Regions from separate parts of the Homo sapiens genome. Here region 1 is linked to region 2. The links are contacts of gene promoters, found by promoter capture Hi-C in blood cells and fetal thymus (Javierre and others, 2016). All regions are on one chromosome and are shown on one strand. The core of a region is centred on a gene start or on the middle of the fragment in contact, and the rest is flanking DNA. Distances in the headings are between cores, read along the strand shown. Region 1 has its middle 58 kb from the start of THAP12. Region 2 holds the start of SERPINH1 (serpin family H member 1).

The links. Contacts are between HindIII fragments. The CHiCAGO score rates a contact against its expected background, and 5 or more counts as called.
Region 1: a contact is called between a fragment that was not itself captured here and the fragment with the promoter of SERPINH1 in region 2, in 1 of 17 cell types (naive B cells). The highest score is 5.2, in naive B cells.

What each region holds. Positions count from the first base shown.
Region 1 is chr11:76,320,669-76,326,026 of GRCh38, reverse strand. No RefSeq gene overlaps it. Among named protein-coding and RNA genes, the nearest start is that of THAP12, 58 kb to the left of the region's middle. The HindIII fragment of the contact is 2,567 bases long and covers 814-3,380 here.
Region 2 is chr11:75,558,104-75,563,502 of GRCh38, reverse strand. It overlaps SERPINH1 (serpin family H member 1), which reads right to left and starts at 1,250. Exons shown (of 5, transcript NM_001235.5): 1 at 1,184-1,250. RefSeq lists enhancers at 1-489, 490-1,030, 1,031-1,570, 4,152-4,693, silencers at 1,195-1,244, 1,255-1,514 and cis regulatory regions at 3,706-4,556, 5,029-5,259. The HindIII fragment of the contact is 13,607 bases long and covers 1-2,698 here.

The DNA.
Region 1 (5,358 bases), core at 848-3,347, 760 kb before region 2:
GACCGTTTTTTTCCCTATTGATAATGGAGAAACCCTGGCACCTTTGTGAAAGGCTATGAAAGTTGTTCAAAATCACACAACAGGCTGGGAATCCAGGAGGCCACATCCGCTCAACCAAGGCAATGCACATTTGTCAAGGACTTGCTTTGTACCCAAACACAGACCAAGGTGATTCTAAGGAAGAAGACCCTTTCTGTTCAGTAAGTCTTAAGTACTATTATGCTCAATAAATATGTGCCTGGCCCTCACTAGGTGTTGACCATTCATGCATTCAGCAAATATTTTATTGAGCAGTCTCTCTGTGTCACTGCTTTTGACTCTAAATTATTTGCTTATACTACTACTTCTTGATTTTTCAGTTTCTTTCTCTTTCTCTCTCTCTTTCCCCTTACTTTCTCCACACTCACATGTACATTTTGTGTCTCCCTACTTCCACCTAGTATCACAAGTTTGATTGGAACAGTATTCATGTTTTCATTATTAGGCTACGTAAATGCTATTGACAACTGGGCCGTGTAGTATTCTATAATTATTTTTCCTTCCCTGCATAACAATTGTGGTTATGCATATCTCCTTTCAATATGTTTAAATGCATTGGCTAGTCTACTGATTTCATCTTCCTGAAGAAGTCCCTCCCAGAGTCTTCCACCATGTCCCATTAGGATGAATTGTCTTCTATTGCACAATAGAATAGAATGGCCTGGGGATTCCTTTGCCCCTATCCTTTGTTACATTTTCTTTTCCTTGGATGCCATGTTTTCCTCTTTCTTGGTTAACTCCCTCACTTCTGTTGAAGCACATCCTCCAGAAGCTTCCTCAGGAAACATGCAAAGATAATTCACATGACTAGAAATGTATTCTCTCTTCACCCTTGATCATCAGTTGGCTGGGTGGAAATATAACTTTCTGGGATGGAAATATAACTTTCTTCAGAATTTTGGAGACATTTCCCCATTTTGCAGCAATATCTTATTTCTTAGGATGTTAATTATAGTTTTAAGTTTTCAGCTTTTTGCAAAGTTGCCAGCTTCTAAGTTCCTTTGTTGTTTCCCCCTATTCTTTTGACTTCTTTTTTAATTAGAGGCTTTTCTCAAATGCTTACTCATCCTTTGCTGTCTGCTCATATTTAAGAATGAGACACTAAAACAGATTTGATACCCTCTGAACATGATTGGGGCTGTGCACATGATTGGGCCATTCCATGTCTTTTATTTTGTGCTAGTCAAAAGAAAAGCTCCTCCAATCTCCTGCCTGAAGCATTCTGTGTATCCTGTCTGGAGTATTAGTATTTTGCCAGGAGAGAGAGTATCTGGAAGTCTGATTGTTTTCCAAGCAATCTTTCTGTTTTTAGCCTCCACCCCGCCCACCTCCGACCCACCCACTTTCCAGAGGTACCTGGTACAACCAACTCCTGAACCATTTGGGGGTTTAACAGTGTAAATTGGGCTGATTTTCAACTTTCTTTATTGCCTTTTAGGATTTAATCAATTACCATTCTTTGTTGGCTGTGTCTGGTTTCCAATATTATGATAAATCCCTTTAGTGTTGTTTTAGTTGGTTTCAGGGAAGACCATAGTGCGAGTTCCGCTTGCTATCTTTATTCTAGTTCAATTTTTAAATGGGCAGTAACAACACATTTCAGAGCAGGAAGTCTCTGTTTAAAGTTATAAACATTAACAGAGACTGTAACCAGAATATGGAAAAGGGCCTAGAGGGGCCCTTCCCCACCAGTTCTTTACCTATTAAGACTCCTGGCTCTAAAAGCCCAGGTCAAAAGCCACTCCTTGCGATGCCTTCCTCAGACTGCCCAGCTTGTATTTGTTTTATTCAAGTTAGGCCAACTGAGTGATAGACATTACAGTACTTTATAGACATTATTCCATTTAAACCTTTACACTCTAAAGTGATAGACTTTTGGAGAGGTGGATGCACTGATCAAGATCCCACAGCCTTCCTGACCACTTCACAGGTGGAAAACTGAGGTGGTCCCATGGCCAGAGCTAAGAAAGGCGGTGCTGATTCCTGGGCCCCCGCTGCTCACGGCGCCCTTTGGCATCACAGTAGGCCAAGGGCAGCTCACTCTTTGGTGGCCCCAAGAATAACGGGGGCAGTTTACTGAGAGATCTCAGTAAACTGACAGTTTACATTTACTGAGATTGTAACAGTCCAAGGGGTTCACCTTGCCCACTGCCTGGACAGAGCCGATTCTTCAAGACAGGGGAATTGCAATAGAGAAAGAGTAATTCATGCAGAGCTGGCTGTGCGGGAGACCAGAGTTTTATTATTACTCAAATCAGTCTCCCCAGGCATTGGGGAGCAGAGTTTTGAAGGATAACTTGGTGGGTGGGGGGAAGACAGTGTGCCAGGAGTGCTGATTGGTCAGAGATGAAATCACAGGGAGTGGAAGCTGTCTTCTTGCGCTGAGTCAGTTCCTGGGTGGGGGCCACAAGATCAGATGAGCCAGTTTATTGATCTGGGTGGTGCCAGCTGATCCATCAAGTGCAGGGCCTGTGAAACATCTCAAGCACTGATCTTAGAGCAGGTTAGAGAGGGTCAGAATCTTGTATCCTCCAGCTGCATATAATTCCTTATCTTGTGGCTAATGTTAGACCTGCCAAAGCAATCTAGTCCCCAGGCAAGAAGGAGGTCTGCTTTGGGAAAGGTCTGTTACCATCTTTGTTTAAACAATAAACTATAAACTAAATTTCTCCCAAAGATAGTTCAATCTATGCTTAGGAATGAACAAGGACAGCTTGGAGGTTAGAAGCAAAATGGAGTCAGTTAAGTTAGATCTCTTTCACTGTCTCAGTCATAATTTTACAAAGGCGGTTTCAAGATCTCTCAGTAAATGACAGACCTGAGACTTAAACTCAGGTCTCTACCATGCAGCCCTTCTGACATAATTGCTGACTTTGAGGAGCCCCAAAGGTAGAGCTCATATTTTGGTGAAAAAATGGCACATGGTACTGCAGTCAGCCCTGGGCACGTACAAGGAGCACCAAATGGGGGTGAAGGAGTGGTGTTCAGTTCAGAGGAAAGAGGGCTTCCTCCCAAATGACCAGGGCTGCCTTTGCAGAGGTGGTAGCATCTGAGCTCATCACCCCACAGGTTCAGGATGGCTTCTTTCCTTGCCTAGGGGATGGGCGGTGACAGTGAATAATAATGATGGTGGTGGTGAAGTTAGTAAAGCACTTTTACTCACATCTCTTTGATTTTACAGAACCTTGTGGGCTGAATGTTATCTCCACTTTAGGCAAGATAAAATCAAGACACAGAGAAGTTAGTCACCCAGCAGGAAAGCCTGGGCTTCAGGGTCCAAGTCCCTCCCTTCCGAGTCCTCGCTCTCTGCTCTCTGCTGTAACTAGGCCGAGGGGGAAGCTTCCTATTCCAAAGCATCTCTTCACCAGTGCTTCACAACATGTGGACTATTTCCTTGTTTTAAAGAGCTGATTTCTGGGTCCCATCTCAGACCTACTGCGTCTCTGGGAGATGGGGCCTTGAAATCTGCATTTTAACAACTGTCCCCGTGATTCTTGTGGTCACCTAAGAGTGAGATGCCCTCGGCCTACTGGGATGCTGAAGGACGCTGTGAGCAGCGGGGGCCCAGGAATCAGCACTGCCTTTCTTAGCTCTGGCCATGGGACCACCTCAGTTTTCTGCCTGAGAAGTGGGCAGAGTCGAGACTCCGAGGGTGCCACGCCCCGGCTGCCACCCCGCCAGCACAGGCGAGCGCCACACCTGCGTCTCTCCCAGGCTCCCTCCCTTCTCCGTCCCGCCCGCCCGGGTGGAAGGAAACAGCTGGGGGCTCTTCTTTTCCAGGCTGCGGTCGCCTCCTCTTCGGTTGCGGACGGGCCGAGGTTGGGGGCTCGGGCCGCTTTCCGCACGCGCCGACCCCCGCCGGGGACCGCAGGGGACCCGAGTGCGCGGGGCTTCCCGCCCGCCGGGCAGCCTCCCCCACCCCGCCTGCCCCGCCGGCAGCCCACAAATATTCCCGAGGCCCGGAGGGGGCAGAAAACGCCTTTCCAGCGCGTCTTCTGGCCCCGGCCCACCTTTCTGCGCGCGGAACCCTTCGAGGAGAGGCCTGGACACCCGTCAGTACCGCGCCCCCAAACCCTCGCCCTGCGCAGCCCGAGGGCGCAAGCGTGGGCCTTGTGGGGCGGGCATGGGCAGGGCAGGCAGACACAGACCCAGGGTGGGAGCTGGGGGAGGGCACCCCACTCAATCCGGGGCTCAGGGAAGGCGTCCTGGAGGGATTTCAGCTAAGCTCTGAAAGATGAACGGATATGATGGACAGAGGGAACAGAATATGCAAAGACCAACAGGGGGGCAGTTGGAGAAATTCCAAATACTGTGTGTTGTTGAAACGCTGAATTCAAGGTGTAGTGGCTCAAGATGGGGCTGGAGAGAGTGGGGAGAGCCAGTCCCGAGCAGGTCCTTGGCAAACCATGCTGGAGGATGGGCGACTCTGAGGGATTGTAAGCAGGACCCTGACTGGCCAGTCATTTGCTTTCCGGGAAGGCCACTCTGGCTGGTGTCGGGGGGGGGCGGGGGGGGACTGGGGGAGTGGCAGGGGATGGGTGAGGAGGCTGTAGGCAGAAGTCACAGTGCCTGCACCCAGGTGACGGGAGTGGGAATGTCTCCCTCCTGCCAACCCTCCTCCTTCCTCGTTAGTCCAGCTTGGACCCTCTTCCAAGGCCTCTCTCAGTGCCCCACTCACCACCTCCAGGAAGTCTTCCCTGCTCCCTCAGGGTCTCAGAACGCCAAAGCCTGTATCTGGTTATTTGCTGCCTTGTCTTTGGAATTAATTTGTGTGCGTCAGCCTTCAAGGGAGCCGAGCATGGTGATCAAGGCCACCCGAGAACCCCAGTTCTACTGCAGACATGTGACCTGGGAAAGTCTTTCATTCACTCTGAGCCTCACTTTATTCCTCTGTAAAATGGGGAGAATGATCCCTCCACTGAAGGATTCTATACGCCTGGCATTTGATGTATGCTTAGTGAGTGAGCTTTTTCTCCATTAGAGTTGGTCAGCCTGGAAACCAGACAAGGGCCCTTTGAGTGTCTCCCGAAACTTCTCTAGGGCTTTTAGATAGAAGTAACCGGATAGCAGCGATCTTAAGGCCGAGGATTGGAATACCGGAGTCCCTGTGTGACTTCAGGCAAGTCAGGGCCCCACTCTGGATAACAAAGGGGCAGGCAGGAGGACCCCTACAGTCCCCACTGCTGCTCTTTTAGGCATTCCCTTTCTGGCGGAGTTCCTTGGGTTTCCTTGGGAGGCAGAGGCACCTGGAAGACCAACCCAGAGCTGAAGATCTAAAATGACAGATTGGCAGGGTCCTGGCTTGGAGCAGCTGCAGCA
Region 2 (5,399 bases), core at 1-2,500:
GCACAGAGCCCCTCCTGAGGGCTGCATGCGGTGTCCTGTTACACAGCCAGTACAAAAAAAAAATCTCTGCTGGGAGTCCCGGTGACAGAGGAGACAAAGGAGAGGACGGGAAGGGGGGATGGGTACATGAACCATCTGAAGACAGGAGGGTGTGGCCCCGGCCGGAATTCCGGAGAACCAAAGCCCCCTCATTTTCCTCAGGCCTCCATCCGGGCCGTACAGCCCAGAGGGACCAGCGGGAAACAAGGAAGAGGAGGGGCTGAGACTCTGGGCCAGTCTGGAAGTGCATTCATTCTCCTTCCTGCTCTTCAGCCACCTCAGGAATGTCTCTAAGCTGGGGGGCAGGGAACCCCAGCCTCTGGAAGTTAGACCCTGCAGTTTAAACCCTGCAGTTACTCCAAGAACCCTGTGGCAGTGGACAGAAGGAAAGACTCAAATCCTTCTAGTCAGCCCCTTAATCCCCAGAGCAGAGCAGACCCTGCTGACCCCCACTCTCTTTTTTCGGAGTGGTAGGGAGCCTCGCTGGCCAAGTCTTTCCTTTGGCTGCCATCATCTAGGCTGCAAGCTGCTGATCAGAAATTGAGCCACTGTCGCCCACTTCTACCAGAGCACACGGACCCCAGGAGTCGAGACGATTTCACCTCCTTTCCCACCACCGGAAGCTCAAATTCCCTCAGCAAGCCTGTGAGGAGGCTGGGCCACCAATCACCGCTGCCCCTGAGCCTCAACCCCAGAACGGAAGTGACCTGGAACTGCGAGGCCGGCCTATCCTCCCTACCCTTGCGGGAAGAGGCACCAGACCCATCTCCTTCCTCCTCTGTTTCTTTCCGCAGAGGCTCTGCTCTCTGCCCCCAGCCCCCTTTACACAGCACCTAGTCTCGTATCTGCCACCACCACCTTTTAGGGGTCCCTGCACTTTTTCCCAGTCCTCCGAGTGCACGGACTCCCAACCCGGCTCCGATCTCCGCCCTAGCCCTCAGCTGGCACCATCACTGGCTAGCCCTGGGCTCTCGATTCCAAACCCTCCAGCGGCCCCCAAAGTGCCGAGGACTCCAATTTGTAGGCTCTGGCTCGGCACCCAACGCTTCGCAGGGTCCCCTCGCCCCTCTTACTCCCTCGCGCACCCCCAGATTGCTCGGCGCTCCCCCGGGCCGCACGCACGCAGGCGTCTCCCGCCCCTCACCTGGGTCGGGCTGGGCTAGCGCCGGGACGTGACTCTCGCTCTCGAGCCGCGACACGATTCTACTCTTAGCCCGCTCCCCTGCTCCCGGGATCTATATATGGCAGTCCCCACCCCCTCCTGCCCGTCCCGAGAAACTTCTGGAAAGTTGGAAACGCTTCCGGAGGGCGCCCCAGCTCCGCCAAAAAAAGCCAAAGACCTCCCTCAAAACCTCCCCGGCCCCCGGCCCCTCCCTCTGCCGGCGCCTCCCGGCCCCTGGGTCCTACTGCCTCCCTCGGCGGCCCGGGCTGCGGGGCGCCGGGAGTCCCCACGGGGATCAGCGTGTCCTTCAGAGTGCGAGCTTCCTCCCACCCCCAGGCTCTCTGCATAAGCTAGCCCACTCCGAATCGCACGTCCTTTCAGGCGCCCCTTTCCCCGCAGGGGCTCTGCCCCAAGCAGAGCCATCTCCCCTTCTCCCCGCTCTCCCCCATTTTCAAGCTGAAACAATTGAGTCCTGTGCACCCCCTCCCTCTCAGGGGAGACGTTCAGGCTTCTGAAGGCAGTGCCCTTCTCCATACTTGTACATTCAAAAAACCTCAACCTCAGCGATGGCCAGAGGGAGAGGGAGCAGACCAGACCCGGTACCTGCCCGGCACCCGGAAAGTTCAAGTCGTGGAGTAATAGAGGCAGAGATGCCTGGGGAACTTCAGGTGGTCTGGCTGGGCTTGGAGGAGTGCACAGGAAGGAAAACCTGGCTCTCCACTGAGCAAGGTGCTGTGTGACCCTAAGCAGGTTACTTTCCCTTTCTGGGCCTCTGTTCCCTTGGCTGTGAAATGTGGTTCTAAGGCATCCCTTGCTTTTTTTCCCCCCTCTCTCCCTTCCTCAATCCTTGTCACCCCTGGCCCCCTCCCTATTGCATCCCCTCCCTCTTTGGGTCCCCTCCCACAGGCCTCAGGTCTCACTGTCAATTCCTACCCCACCCTCGCAAACTGATAGCTCCTTGACCTCCAAGTTAAGCTAGGGTATTCATTACTGTTCTAGGTGCTGAGGACACAGCTGAGAGCTGAACAAAGTCCTTGCCCTGTGCGATGTCCATCTGTGGGGTATGTACCTGTTAGTAGGGAATTCAGTGATTCAGTGAGGCAGATTATTTAGGAAACCCTAAATAATCTGGGCGACAGTGGCTCAATTTCTGATCAGCCGAGGCTCCCTACCCTCCGAAAAGTCCTCTTTAGTAGTTTAATGATAGCTATTGGATGGACGCAGTATGGAGAGGAAGGGACAGGGTAGGGACTCTTCATTCATTCAGTCATGAATGAATGCATTGAGTATCTTCTTTCTTCTAGGTGCTTGCCTGGATCCTGGGGAGCAAAAAAATCCCAGTACCCAGCAAATGAGTCAATCACCTGGGTCCCTGCCCTCTGTTAGTGGTTGTGGGGAAGCCTGGTGGTGGTGACAAACCTCTCTGTCTGGGTAGGCTTCTGCAGCTCAGAGTCTTTTGAGTACAAGGACTGTGGGAAATCTCAGATCCCAAAAGCTTCAGACTCTGTGATTCAGGGTCAAGGAATCAGAGATTACTTCCACTCAAAGCCCCCAAGGAGTCTTTGAATCCAGCTAAGGAATCTTAACATGTTAAAATCTCAGAGTCGAAGGATTCTGGAATAAATGTATTAAAGACTCTGAGCTGCAAGGCATCTCAGAGGTCAGGGGTTCCTGTCTGCAGCCCCAGGCAGAAGCCCTCTTCTCAGTATCCCAAAAAGGCAAGCACCGAGGCACCTCTAAGAAGAGAGAGCTTACCTCCTTCAGAGGCAGCCCCGCATTCTTTTTTAGGACAGGTCTGATTATTAACAAAAGCTTCCAGCCTTGGCATGGTGTCCATCTCTTTGGGGTGGCTGTCGTGGTTCTCATGTGCTTCCTCCTGCCTCAACTGTATATTGCTTTTAAAGATAAATTCTAGGCTGGGCGCGGTGGCTCATGCCTGTAATCCCAGCACTTTGGAAGGCCGAGGTGGGTGGATCACCTGAGGTCAGCAGTTCAAGATCAGCGTGGCCAAAATGGTGAAACCCCATCTCTAATAAAAATATGAAAATTAGCCAGCTGTGGTGTCATGTGCCTGTAATCCCAGCTACTCAGGAGGCTGAGGCGGGAGAATCTCTTGAACCTGGGAGGTGGAGTTTGCAGTGAGCCGAGATCATGCCACTGCACTCCAGCATGGGTGACAGAGCGAGACTCCATCTCAAAAAAAAAAGATAAATTCTTGTTTATCCAAGGAGACCTCCCGGGTCCCAGGCCAGACCCCACTCTCTACTCCCACCCCCACATTGGCCCTCAGGCTTCCTTGTGACTTGGTCAGTGAGCTGAGGGCAGGGCAGAGCAGAAACAAAGAGTGCCCATCAATGCTGGCAAAACAGAGAGGGTCGCCTGGGTTTTCAGCAGGTTCAGATGTCACAATCCCAGTGAGACTCCCTTCCTCTACTCTCTTACATCTCTTAGCTCTTTTAGGCTTCACCAACACCTGAGGGGGAGACTGAGAGTGCTGTGACTGTCCCATTTTGAGGGATAAACCAAAGCTCATGCTGTTAAATAGACCCAGTATCATGAGTGGTCACTGAAGAGAGGACCTGCCCTTACAGACAGCAAAGCTGAGGCCTAAGGAGGGCTGGGTCTGAAGGCCCAACCCCCATCCGACCCCCACTAATCTCACACCGGGTCAGAAGCCTCCTCTGTGACCTATCCCACTGCTGCATTATCTCTGTTATCACCCTGTATTGTCAGTGAACCATCACTGGAGACTTTGGAAGGGCAGGGCCTTTTCCTTGTCACTGTGAGTCCCCAGCTCCAGCAAGGGGACAGTATGGAAGAGGCACTGGGTAAGCATGGCTGGCCAGGGGATGAGAAGTGGCTGCCTGAGGCTGCTGTGCCCCTAGCACAGCCTCCCTGAAGAAGGGAAAGCAACGGCTCCTTTAAATTTCCAAGATCAGCAAAAAAAAAAAAAGTCAAGAGCCTTTGCCACAATATTCTTAGCTCTGAGCCCAGCCCAGACTGACTGTGGCCCTTCCCCCACATTCCAGGCAGAGCTTTCCGGAAAAAGCACTCTTTTAGGGGGTGGGGGAGAAGAGTCTGATAAGCAGAGAAACTCTCAAGCATTTTGTCTCTGGACTCCTCCAGTGCCTCGCTTCACTGAAGGAAGTGGTCCTGGTGCCTGGCACGTGGAGGCTGGCTGGAAATCCTCTAGATCCCTAGGTCCCGAGAGGTGTGGACAGCAGAAAGTAGAAAACCATCAAGTCCAACTGCATCCACACTATACAGAGAGGACAACGGAAGCCCAGAGAGGGCAGGAATTTACCCAAGGTCACACAGCATATCAGAGGTGGGGCTGGGCTGGAGCCTAAGCCCTGGACTCCCAGCCCTCTTTCTCCCACAGTACCCTCTAATGACCCAGGGGGGTATGTAGGCCCAGTTCTGCCAGGTGCTGTGGAAACAGCTTTCTTTGGCCCCAGTGGCTAGATTCACTCAGTCTTCACCCCATAGAATCCTAGGACAAAAACTTGCATGTCATTTAAGTGTGCAACACATTCACATTTATTATCATATTTATTCCTTTCAGGTAAGGAAGAATGTTCCAATTTTCAGCATGAAGAAACTGAGGATCAGGGAGACTAAGCAACAGGGTTAAGGGCACACAACAAGCCAGAGTCAGAGCTGGGTTTTGAATCAGGTCTGTTTATGCCATATCCACGGGAAGGCAGGGAGTGGACGAGAAGGAAGTGACATTTATGGGCCATTTTGCCGCTGCCAGGCCTGTGCTGGGCACCGTCATTAGTGTCTCACTTTTAATTATAGAACGTTAATCGGAAGGAAGTTTAATCCCCTTCTTTTTACATTGGTATAAAATTGGAGCCCAGAAAGCTCCGACAGCCAGTCCAGGGTCGGCCCCCTCCCTCAGGGAGCCAGGGCTGCTATAGGCAGCTCTTCTTTGAGATGCTGTCCAGGAGCCAAGAATGTGCTCTCAGCCCAAGGCATGAGTCAGGAAAACACGATTTCTGTAATCTTGGATTCTCTCTCTTGGAGCGTGGGGCCTTCCATCCAAAAAGGGCTGTCCTGCGTGCTGCCACGTTGGAGGGTGGGCAGCCGGTCCATGTGGGGGTGGGTGGGCACATGATTCCTCCCCTCCTCCTCCCAGAGCAGGCCCGCCCCTACCCGTCTGCAATCCTGGTGCTGAGCGAAGCCACATAGGAAC